Regions from separate parts of the Homo sapiens genome. Here region 1 is linked to region 2. The links are contacts of gene promoters, found by promoter capture Hi-C in blood cells and fetal thymus (Javierre and others, 2016). All regions are on one chromosome and are shown on one strand. Each heading gives the region's core, a stretch centred on a gene start or on the middle of the fragment in contact. The rest is flanking DNA. Distances are from core to core; before and after follow the strand shown. Region 1 overlaps ARMH3 (armadillo like helical domain containing 3). Region 2 holds the start of HPS6 (HPS6 biogenesis of lysosomal organelles complex 2 subunit 3).

Evidence for each region. The method cuts DNA at HindIII sites, captures the fragments that hold promoters and counts their contacts. A CHiCAGO score of 5 or more calls a contact.
Region 1: a contact is called between a fragment that was not itself captured here and the fragment with the promoter of HPS6 in region 2, in 1 of 17 cell types (erythroblasts). The highest score is 5.9, in erythroblasts.

Annotation. Positions count from the first base shown.
Region 1 is chr10:101,896,746-101,902,213 of GRCh38, forward strand. All of the region lies in intron 23 of ARMH3 (armadillo like helical domain containing 3), which reads right to left. Among named protein-coding and RNA genes, the nearest start is that of KCNIP2, 56 kb to the left of the region's middle. The HindIII fragment of the contact is 2,718 bases long and covers 2,770-5,468 here.
Region 2 is chr10:102,061,888-102,067,284 of GRCh38, forward strand. HPS6 (HPS6 biogenesis of lysosomal organelles complex 2 subunit 3) reads left to right here and starts at 3,462. Exons shown (of 1, transcript NM_024747.6): 1 at 3,462-5,397. The coding sequence starts at 3,588. RefSeq lists an enhancer at 2,954-3,003 and a silencer at 3,214-3,883. The HindIII fragment of the contact is 26,306 bases long and covers 1-5,397 here.

The DNA of each region.
Region 1 (5,468 bases), core at 2,879-5,378, 160 kb before region 2:
CACTGGGCCATGGACTATCCTATAAATTACAGAAGCTGGAGTTTCAGGAGCTTCTGGAGAGAGAGGGCTCTGTGGTGCAATACCACAAAAGGTGGCAGAGATGACGAGTGAGACTGGTGCTGAAGGGCACATGCTCAGGAAGGACTGACCCTACCTGGAGGTGAGAAGAGTCCAACTCATGGTAATATGTATGATATACTTAAGTCAAAAGTTCTGCATGTGGCAAAGGATGTCAACTTTTGGCTGCTGGAATAGGATGTTGAGGGGGGTGGCAGGGTTGGTGGATGAGAAGAAAGTTTCTCTTATTCTCAACATCCTTTACCAATTTATTTTTCCAGCAATAGTTGGAGTTGCCCACATTATTCAGGGAAACAGAATTGGGAAGAGGATTTAAAGAAATATGGGTAGTAATAAGGCCCAAGGAAGGGGAAAGGAGTTCTACCCACAGACAGAACTTAGTGGGAAAAGAGAATGTAATTTCTAACCAAACCTCTAGCTTCTCTGAAACTTGAACTAAAAGCTCCAAGACAGCAGGTACCAAATTTATTTTGCTCACCAATATTTTGTCCAGTTTCACTGTAAGTAGCTTTTGCTTCTGGAGATCCAGAATCACTAGCTATCCTCCCAAAGTATGAAAATAAAAATTAAAATGTTTTATCCTCATCCCAGGAAAAAAGGTGGCTCAGACATGAACAGCTGTCCTCCCAAAGAAGGAGCAAAAGTTGACACTGATGACAATAAAGCTTTTCTTCCTCTTAAGTCATATCAAGAGGCTAGAGGAAAGCTTTCTGGCATTCCTTTTTTAAGTAATCTAATACCTTCTAAAAGTAAGCCTAGGTTTTGTTTGTGTGTTTGTTTGAGGGTGGGGAGGATGAGGTGAGGTGTGGGGGAATGTGTTTTATTCTGATACGGGGCCTCTAAAGCCACTGAATTAGAAAGTCCCAAAGGGGAAGGAAAAATAAATAGACAACATCATAGTAAAGAGAAATTGCTAAAGCCAGCCACAGTGAGGGATGGCACTGTGCCCAATGCACCTTTAAGAGCAGGAATCTGGGCCACCCTCCAATGCAACTGTCAACTTCTGACTGCAGAAGATAGAGGTCACTTATACAGGCTGAAGCAAAATGAAGTGGATAGATGGAACAGTAAGGATGAACAGTAAACCGGCTGGGGATTTCTTGGTCCATTGTAAACTTATTCTCTCTGACTCATGACTCTGCAAAGCAGCTCTCTTTTCCCAAGTGCCGGGTGGTTGTTAACTGAGACACATAGTTAATGTCGAACTTGCATTAAAGATAAGCATGGAAATGTTCCTTTAACAATGTAGGCAATATAGCTTAAGAGAAAATGTGGACCAGGCACGGTGGCTCTCCCCTGTAATTCCAGCACTTTGCGAGGCTGAAGTGGGAGAAGTGCTTAGCTCAGGAGCACAAAAAAAAAAATTTTTTTTTTTTAAAATTAGCTGGGCATGGTGACATGTGCCTGTTGTAGTCCCAGCTACTCAGGAGGCTGAGATGGGAGGATGATTTGAGCCAGGGATGTCAAGGCTGCAGGGAACCATGATCACACCACTGCGCTCCCTAGCCTGGGTGACAGAGCAAGACCCAGTCTTAAGAAATAAAAAAAAAAGAAGAAGAAAAAGAAAATGTGGATTCCTCCTCATATCCAATATAAAGCTAAAGCAAATCCTCCAAAATGCAATCTCCCATGGACAGAAGCATCTACGAGTCTTTAATGAAACAATAAATAAATAGTTTCATTCAGAAGCTCAGAACATGGCGATTGTTTCATTACTGAGATACCTGAAGGAAGCAGGCTATCTCTAAAAGCTGCTATGTACATCTTTCAGGCAGAACAGGGAAAAACAAGCAAAAGTTGTTTTTGTAACTCTCATTCCAAGGAAGGAGGAAACATAACTGTTATACTCAATACGCGCACACGCGCACACACACACACACATATATGTATGTATATGAAGATTCTTGAAGGTTTCACCCTAAAACTACTCTTATAAGACTACCAGATTTACATTAACGAGTCTGATTGTGGGTGAATTTCTCAAGCTTAGTAAAAAATTTGGATCTTAAGCTCCAACCTCATTAAGAGCTGTAGCCCTGTATTTTCAAATGCTTACTAAATATTTACACCTGGATGTCTTGCTTTTGTTTACCTGGATCTCTTCACATAGAATGTTATCACCACTAAAAAGCCTAAGTCATCTTTTTCCTTGAAGGCCCAGTTAAAATACCATTGCTTCCCCGAACAACATGGTTCATACAGAAAACAGCAAGGCTTTAGAGAAAGGAGATTTGAAAAAATCTGGATTCCTCCACTTATTAACTGTGTGACTTTGGGCAAGAGACCAACCTCTCTGAGTAGTAGTTTCTTTGGTTGAATTTCACTTCCAAAACTTTCCTCTCTGTTTTCCTGTATACCATCTAACTAGCCCTAAGGAATTTTTTTTCCCCCAAGGCAGCTTCCCTTTTCCTAGACCAGTCCAGTGATATACTACTATGCAATATACTACAGAGTATGTTCTCAGGTATCTGAGATTAAAGACAAGAAAACCATCATATTCGTAATTGCTTTTACCTGGGAAACCTTCAGGCATACAGGTAAAATACTGGCTTTTGAGAAGGGGTAAAGGTATGACTGAGTGTATGTGGCAGTAGTTAAAATGGTTCATCTGAGGTTGAGTTATTTAATTTTAAACTAACATTTCTTTCACCTTCAGAATTGCCTCACAGACTCCCATTTCATGCAGTACTAAGCTTCCTTCTTCATGGAGTCAATGAATCTTCAGCCCACCCAAATCACCAACAACAAAAAAAGCAATTTCCCTTGATGCCTGTTAACAGAAGTGCATTACAAGCCTCAAAGACTCTGCTGATTAACATTAAACAAAATAAAACCTCAAGTAAGAATACCTTCTAACCTTTTCACTTTGAAACTATCTAATCAAAACATCAGCAACTGACCTGTTAGGATTATCCTTCTAACTTACCCCCTAAGGTTTAGGTCTTAACCCTTTCAGGACAATTATTTCCCTCCATAAATTATACTACTGTCCCTGTGGCCATTCTTTTCAGGACCAAAGACACAAAAATGGAACCTTAGTTAGTATAAAAGGCATTTTGACAACCAGCAAGAAGGATAAACTACTGACCAGTGCATCTAGTTGCTTACTTTACCCAATGATCCAATGTAAATGGAGAAGAATGAACCACAAGTGTTGAAAGAACCACAAAAGTCAAATGGACCATCTACATTTCCATAAAAGGCATCATCACTTAATCCATTCCCCTTATGTCTACTTTTTATTAAATCTTTCAATAAATGAAAAGAGGCTCCAAAACTTTCCTAAACATAAAACACCTATAAGATTATCCTATCGTTGCTCAGATCCATCACTCTGTGCTTCTGACTACCTTACTCTGTTCTCTAGTGGCAGGTCCGAAGTTACTGGCAGAGTTCCTGGGGCTACAGAATGAAAACCTCTAATAATCTTTGGAATTGGTTTTCCTATTTCCCTTTTCCTGGATTTCCTATTTCCAGAAGCAAGGCTCCTCTACACGCTCAGAAATGCCAAATGAATATAAAGGAACAAAATGGCCTATAAGAAAATGTGTATTAGATGTTCTGTCCCTTTTCAGAACATAAGAAAATCCTAACACATACCTAAGAGGAATTCTGAAGCACTGGAGATAAGCTCAAAACCCCCAAAACTGATCTAATTTTGATTAATGGTGAACATTCCAATCTCTTGAATATGAATTAAGAACTTTTTAAAAACTGGCATGAGACAAAAACCTGAAATATTTTAATTACACCTCATTCCCATTAGCCCAATTAATCAATTTATTATAAGACACTTAAATTTTAAGCATGGGAGAGCAAGAAAATGAGCAATTGACTAGTCTTCTTTTCCCGTCACTTCAAAAATAAAGGCGAATTGGCTGGTCACAGTGGCTTATGCCTGTAATCCCAACACTTTGGGACGCCCAGGTGGGAGAACTGCTTGAGGCCAGGAGTTCAAGAGCAGCTTGGGCAACATAGTGAGACCCCCATATCTACAAAAAATTTTTTTTAAATTAGCCAGCATAATGTGCACACCTATAGCCCTAGCCATTCATGAGGATGAGGCATGAGAATTGCTTGAACCCAGGAGTTTGAGGTTACAGTGAGCTGTGATCATGCCACTGTACTCCAGCCTGGGCAACAGAGCAAGACCCTGTCTCTAAAAATAAAGGGAAATTATTTTAGTGGATCACATGCTAGACTGAGGAAGGAGGGAAATATTCTGTGGATCCCATGCCAGTTAGAGAAAAAGAGGCATATGAATCCTAAACTAGACTAGATGAGCCATACATAATACCTCAGTGGTGGAGGAGGAGGATCTCATGTGCACAAAGGAGGAAGAAACCTGTCAAGATTTCCCAGTGGTCCAGTGTGGGCCATATGGATTCCATACTAGATAGCAGTGGTCCTGATGTTCACATACAGGAGAGATGAGAGGGTGGGCCATATGGATCACGTACTGGTTTTCAAGTACTCCAGGAAAAGAATGAAATTAAAAGACACGGAAACAGGCTTATACTCCATCCCAGGGGGACCTTTTAGAACTCCTCAGGAAAGGCAATCAGCAAGTCTGCCAAAGTAATTAAGCAAACGAACATTTACCATAAAGCCCACATCAGTTAAGTGAACAAAGATGAATCTTATTACAGTGCACTGTCAGCTCTGAGCCTGCAGGTGCTAACCACTGAGACGTGGCGTTACTCGGCCCTAGCTGCTCACCCACCCACTGTGACAGAGAGCTTCGCCCTTCTCGTCAGCTCTGAAAAAGCAGGCTGCTTTCACCTGCTCCAGCACTGACTTATGTTGCTTTCAGACAGACCCTCACAGAGATGGCTTCCTATAAGAAGCCTGGGTGTGGATACTGTGGCAGGTGGTAGGGTTGGCTACAGAAGGGAGGCTTGAGAGGTAGAGAGGATGGGAGAAAGCAGGGGGGCTGGGTAGCAGTTATGTCAGTGAGGTAAAGAAAATGGGATAGTTTGGTAAATCAAGAAGTAAATAAAGAATAAACAAGCTGCCCAAAGTATTGAACCGTTCTGCCTAAGTGAAGTTGATAGTCTCTCTGAAAAGGGAAGAAGTTAAAACTTCATTGCAAAATAGTTTCTCCTCAAGGAAAGAAATATTACTAGGGAACATCGCTTTTCTAATGTTAATGGCAGCCTCAACATCAGCTTTATTAATGAGTTAGCACCAAAGCTAACAGGGTCAGATTTGTTGAGACCTAATCAGTATCTATTATTTAACAAAATCCACTGCTTGCTAGAATAAATGAATACTTATCAATTATCCTAAGATTTACAAATGGCACTTGAAGCACCTTTTGGCCCTATTTCTTTCTGCAAATAATTTTGAGAGTCAAAATGAAAGCCCCAAATTGACCAAATGCCAACCAA
Region 2 (5,397 bases), core at 2,212-4,711:
TCACGGCAACCTCCGCCTCCTGGGTTCAAGCGATTCTCCTGCCTCAGCCTCCTGAGTAGCTAGGATTACGGGCATGCACCACCACGCTGGGCTAATTTTGTACTTTTAGTGGAGACAGGGTTTCTCCATGTTAGTCAGGCTGGTCTAGAACTCCCGAACTCAGGTGATCCGCCTGCCTCAGCCCCCCAAAGTGCTGGGACTACAGGTGTGAGCTACCGCACCCAGCCAATTTGCAGTTTTTTAAAAAAATCAAAGTTGTACCCTAATAGAATATAAAAAAGTAGGCAGGTGTAAGAGAAAGGTGTAATGAGGTGAACCCCAATAGAAGGTATGATCAGAATTTATTCATAACAGGTGCTGTCTTCCAGTGCAGTGATCAGCTTGTATAGCACCAGAGATCATGGTATCTTTAACAAATTGTTCCGGCTAAAAAAACAGTTGTGGCCAGGCACAGTGGCTCATACCTGTAATCCCAGCACTTTGGGAGGCCGAGGCAGGTGGATCACCTGAGGCCAGGACCTTCAAGACCAGCCTGGCCAACATGGCAAAACCCCGTCTCTACAAAAAATACAAAAATTAGCAGGGCATGGTGGTGTGCACCTGTGATACCAGCTACTCGGGAGGCTGAGGTGGAAGAATTGCTTGATCCCAGGAGGCAGAGGTTGCAGTGAGCCAAGATTGTGCCACTGCACTCCAGCCTGGGGAGACAGCAAGACTCTGTCTAAAAAAAAAAAAAAAAAAGTCGTGCTTCCTACTTCTTAGTATTTGGTGGGTGTGGGTGTCTTGGTTCATGACCATTTGCCACACCTGTTCTTCCTTTCTCCTGAAGATTCTGTGAGTCCCCTATGTTCTTCTAAATAACTTCATTTTTGCTTAAGACAGCCATGGTCTGTTTCTGTAATTTTTTTTTTTAAAGAGACAGGATGCTTGCCATGTTGCCCAGGCTGTAGTGCAGTGGCTATTCACAGGCACAATCATTGCACACCACAGACTCCAACTCCTGGCCTCAAGTAATCCTCTTGCCTCAGCCTCCTGAGTAGCTGGAACTGCATGCGTGAACCACCGTGCCTGGCCTACTTCTGTAATTTTTAAGGAAAAGTTTTCTAAGTGATATCACACACACAAACATGTGCCCATGAAAACGTAATGATTCCTTCACCAAACATCTGTGGAGACTTTGTGTCAGGCTCTACTCTAAATATGAGGATAGGATACAAAAACAAAAGAAATCTATGTCAACTAAGAGCAACTGAAGGAGGAGCAGTTTGGGGCAGGAAGATGATGTTTAGGACATGTTGAGAATGAAATGTCTGTGAGATGAGACATCTTAGGCAGAAATAAATATTTAGTAGACATTTGGATGCTCTTTTTTTGTGTGGAGCTTAGCAGAGACGTCTGAGCTGTAGGCAAAAGAAAAAAATAAAGGGGCTCAAAGTGGAATCAGGATATAGGAGGAAGAGCACATTTAAAGGATGATGGAGGGGCCGGGTACAGTGGCTCACACCTGTAATTCTAACATTTTGAGAGGCTAAGGCGGGCAGATCACTTGAGGCCTGGAGTTCGAGACCAGCCTGGCCAACCAACATAGCAAAACCCGACCTCTACTAAAAATATAAAAAGTAGCTGGGCATGGTGGTGCACTTCTGAAATCCCAGCTACTAGGGAGGGAGGCTTAGGCAGGAGAATCGCTTGAACCTGGGACATGGAGATAGCAGTGAGCCGAGATTGCGCCACTGCACTTCAACCTGGGCAACGGAGCAAGACTCTGTCTCAATAAATAAATAAATAGGCCAGGCACGGTGGCTCATGCCTGTAATCCCAGCACTTTGGGAGGCCAAGGCATGTGGATCACGAGGTCAAGAGATCAAGACCATCCCGGCCAGCAAGGTGAAACCCTGTCTCTACTGAAAATACAAAAATTAGGTGGGCGTGGTGGTGGGTGCCTCTAATCCCAGCTACTCGGGAGGCTGGGCAGGAGAATCGCTTGAACCCAGGAGGCAGAGGTTGCACTGAGCCAAGATGGTGCCACTTCACTCAAACGTGGGCGACAGAGTGAGACTCTATCTCAATCAATCAATCAATAAAGGATGGAGGAAGATGAACCAAAGGCAAATAAAACTCTGAAGGCAGTGCTATCTAAAAATAAAAATAAAAAAATAAAATAAAATAAAAGGAAAGGAAAACCAGCCAGGAAAGATGCAGTGCAAACCACAGGAGGGACTTTCAATGAGAAGGCTGTCAAATAAAAATGTCCTTGAAGACCTCAGCAAAAGCTACTTCAGGGAAGTAGTGGGTTGAGGATAGAAGGAAAGAAAGTGGAGGTGGCAAATGTAGCATCCTTGCAAGAAAATTGACTGAGAAAGGAAAAGGGGAGGGAGTGATGGAGGTGGAAGTGGGGAGATGAGGATGAAAGAACGAATTCCAAGACAGGAGAGATGACAGGGTATTTCTATGCTGAGGACGGAATGAGGGCAGTGAAACAGAAATGGATGCAAGTTCTCAAGGAAGGTAGGGGCCGGGGAGGAGAGGCAGGGCTCATAAAGAGGGATTGGCCTTGGAGAGAGGAGGAAAACTGCTCACCTGAAAAGGCAGTCAAGGGGTGGAAGGACCCCTGCATACAAATTTGTAGGTGTTACTGAAGAGTCGGTACACAGGCTCAGTGCTTCTAAATTATGTTTCTCTGTTTTGGTTTGGGTGATGAGTTGTTGATATGATAAAGTGATTTGTTGCACTGACTCTGGAGCCAGAGTGCCTGTGGTTGAAATCCCACCTCCACCACTTAATACCTGCTTGATCTTAGTTAAGTTACGTAATCTCTCTGTGCTTCATCCTCCTTATCTGTAAAAGGGACTAGGGGATAGAGAAGGCTGTCACATAGTGATATGGAAGTGGTTTTCTTTCCTTCCTTCCTTCTCTCTCTCTCTCTTTCTTTCTTTCTGTCTTTTTAAAATTTTTATAGAGACAAGGTCTGCCTATGTTGCTCAGGCTGGTCTCGAACGCCTGGCCTCAAGCAATCCTCCCACCTCAGCCTCCCAAAGTGCTAAGATTATAGGCGTGAGCCACCGCGCCCAGCCATGTTTACTATTTCCACTAGATTGTCATCTCCATGAGGTTGAGGTTTTCTATTTTGTTTAGGGCTGTCTACTCAGAGCCTGGCACAAAGCATGTGCTCAACGAAAATTTCCTGAATGAGTAAATTGGGGTGAAATTCTTGGGAGAGGGGCTCAGGGGGCTGGAATCCCTATTCCTGCGTGGGACTCCGGGCCACTGGGCGGCGTCCTGGGGTCTGGGGAAGGGCCTCCCCCTGCGCCGAGAGCGTGCCCGGGCGGGCGCGGTCCAGGCGCTGAGCCCCTGGGGCGCTCCCGTGGCTCCTCCCCCGGCGGGCGTGTAGTGTCGGCCCAGCGACTGCGGGAGGCATCCCGGAGCCGGCCGGGCGGGGCGGAGTCGACGCTCGGCCCGGCCTCTGCTCACCTCATCCACGGGAGACGGAAGTCTTGGCCCTGCTCCGCTCCCCCGAGAATCGGGCCTCGCCCTGCTGGGCGGCTGGACCTGGGCAAAGCCTGGGCGCGCTCCCGCGCAGCGGCGCCATGAAGCGCTCGGGGACTCTGCGGCTGCTCTCGGACCTGAGCGCCTTCGGCGGCGCGGCGCGGCTCCGGGAGCTGGTGGCCGGGGACTCAGCGGTCCGAGTCCGTGGCAGTCCGGACGGCCGCCACTTGCTGCTCCTGCGACCCCCTGGGGCGGTAGCCCCACAGCTGCTAGTCGCGTCGCGAGGGCCCGGCGCGGAGCTAGAGCGGGCCTGGCCGGCCGGCCAGCCCTCCCCGCTGGACGCCTTCTTCCTGCCGTGGCCAGCGCGGCCGGCGCTGGTGCTGGTGTGGGAGAGTGGCCTGGCCGAGGTGTGGGGCGCGGGCGTGGGGCCTGGCTGGCGGCCGCTGCAGAGCACCGAGCTGTGTCCGGGCGGGGGAGCCCGCGTTGTGGCAGTGGCGGCGCTCCGAGGCCGCCTGGTGTGGTGCGAGGAGCGGCAGGCCCGGGCCGAGGGCCCGTCAGGGTCGCCAGCAGCCGCTTTCAGCCACTGTGTGTGCGTCCGGACTCTGGAGCCCAGCGGGGAAGCTAGCACCAGCCTGGGCCGCACACACGTCCTGCTGCACCACTGCCCTGCCTTCGGGCTGCTGGCCTCCTGCAGACAACTCTTCCTGGTGCCCACTGCCACCACCTGGCCTGGCGTGGCCCACGTTCTACTCATCTGGAGCCCAGGCAAGGGCAAAGTGATGGTGGCTGCCCCACGGCTTGGTCTCTCCTACAGTAAGAGTCTGAATCCTGGACGAGGGGACACATGGGACTTCCGGACCCTGCTCCGAGGCCTTCCTGGGTTGCTGTCCCCCAGGGAGCCACTGGCTGTACACACCTGGGCCCCAACTCCCCAGGGCCTGCTGTTGCTTGACTTCGGGGGCACTGTGAGCCTATTGCAGTCCCACGGTGGTACGCGGGCTGTGGGCACCCTGCAGGAGGCACCTGTAGGCCCGTGGGGGTCTGCAGCCCTAGGCACATTTCAGGGCACTCTGGCCTGTGTGCTGGGCTCCACATTGGAACTGCTGGACATGGGCAGTGGGCAGCTGCTGGAGAGGAAGGTCCTAAGTACAGACAGGGTACATCTGCTAGAACCGCCAGCCCCCGGCATGGAGGATGAGGAAGAGCTGGAGACCCGAGGGAATCTTCGTCTGCTTTCAGCCTTGGGTCTGTTTTGTGTGGGCTGGGAAGCCCCACAGGGTGTTGAGTTGCCTTCAGCCAAGGATCTGGTGTTTGAGGAGGCCTGCGGGTACTACCAGCGGCGGAGCCTGCGGGGTGCCCAGCTCACTCCAGAAGAACTGAGACACAGCAGCACATTCCGGGCACCTCAGGCTCTGGCCTCCATCCTCCAGGGCCACCTGCCCCCATCTGCACTGCTGACCATGTTGAGGACCGAGCTTCGGGATTACCGAGGCTTAGAACAGCTGAAGGCCCAGCTGGTGGCTGGGGATGATGAGGAGGCTGGTTGGACTGAGCTGGCGGAGCAGGAAGTGGCACGCCTGCTGAGGACTGAGTTGATAGGAGACCAGCTAGCCCAGCTCAACACCGTTTTCCAAGCCCTTCCTACAGCAGCCTGGGGTGCCACCCTCAGGGCCCTGCAGCTCCAGCTAGATGGGAATGGCAAGCTGAGGTCCCAAGCACCCCCTGATGTGTGGAAGAAAGTGTTAGGGGGAATAACCGCTGGAAAGGAACCCCCCAATGGAATACTGCCCCCCTTTGAACTCCTGTGCCAGTGTCTGTGCCAGCTGGAGCCTCGATGGCTGCCACCCTTTGTGGAGCTGGCACAGCAGCAGGGCGGGCCGGGCTGGGGGGCAGGGGGCCCAGGACTGCCCC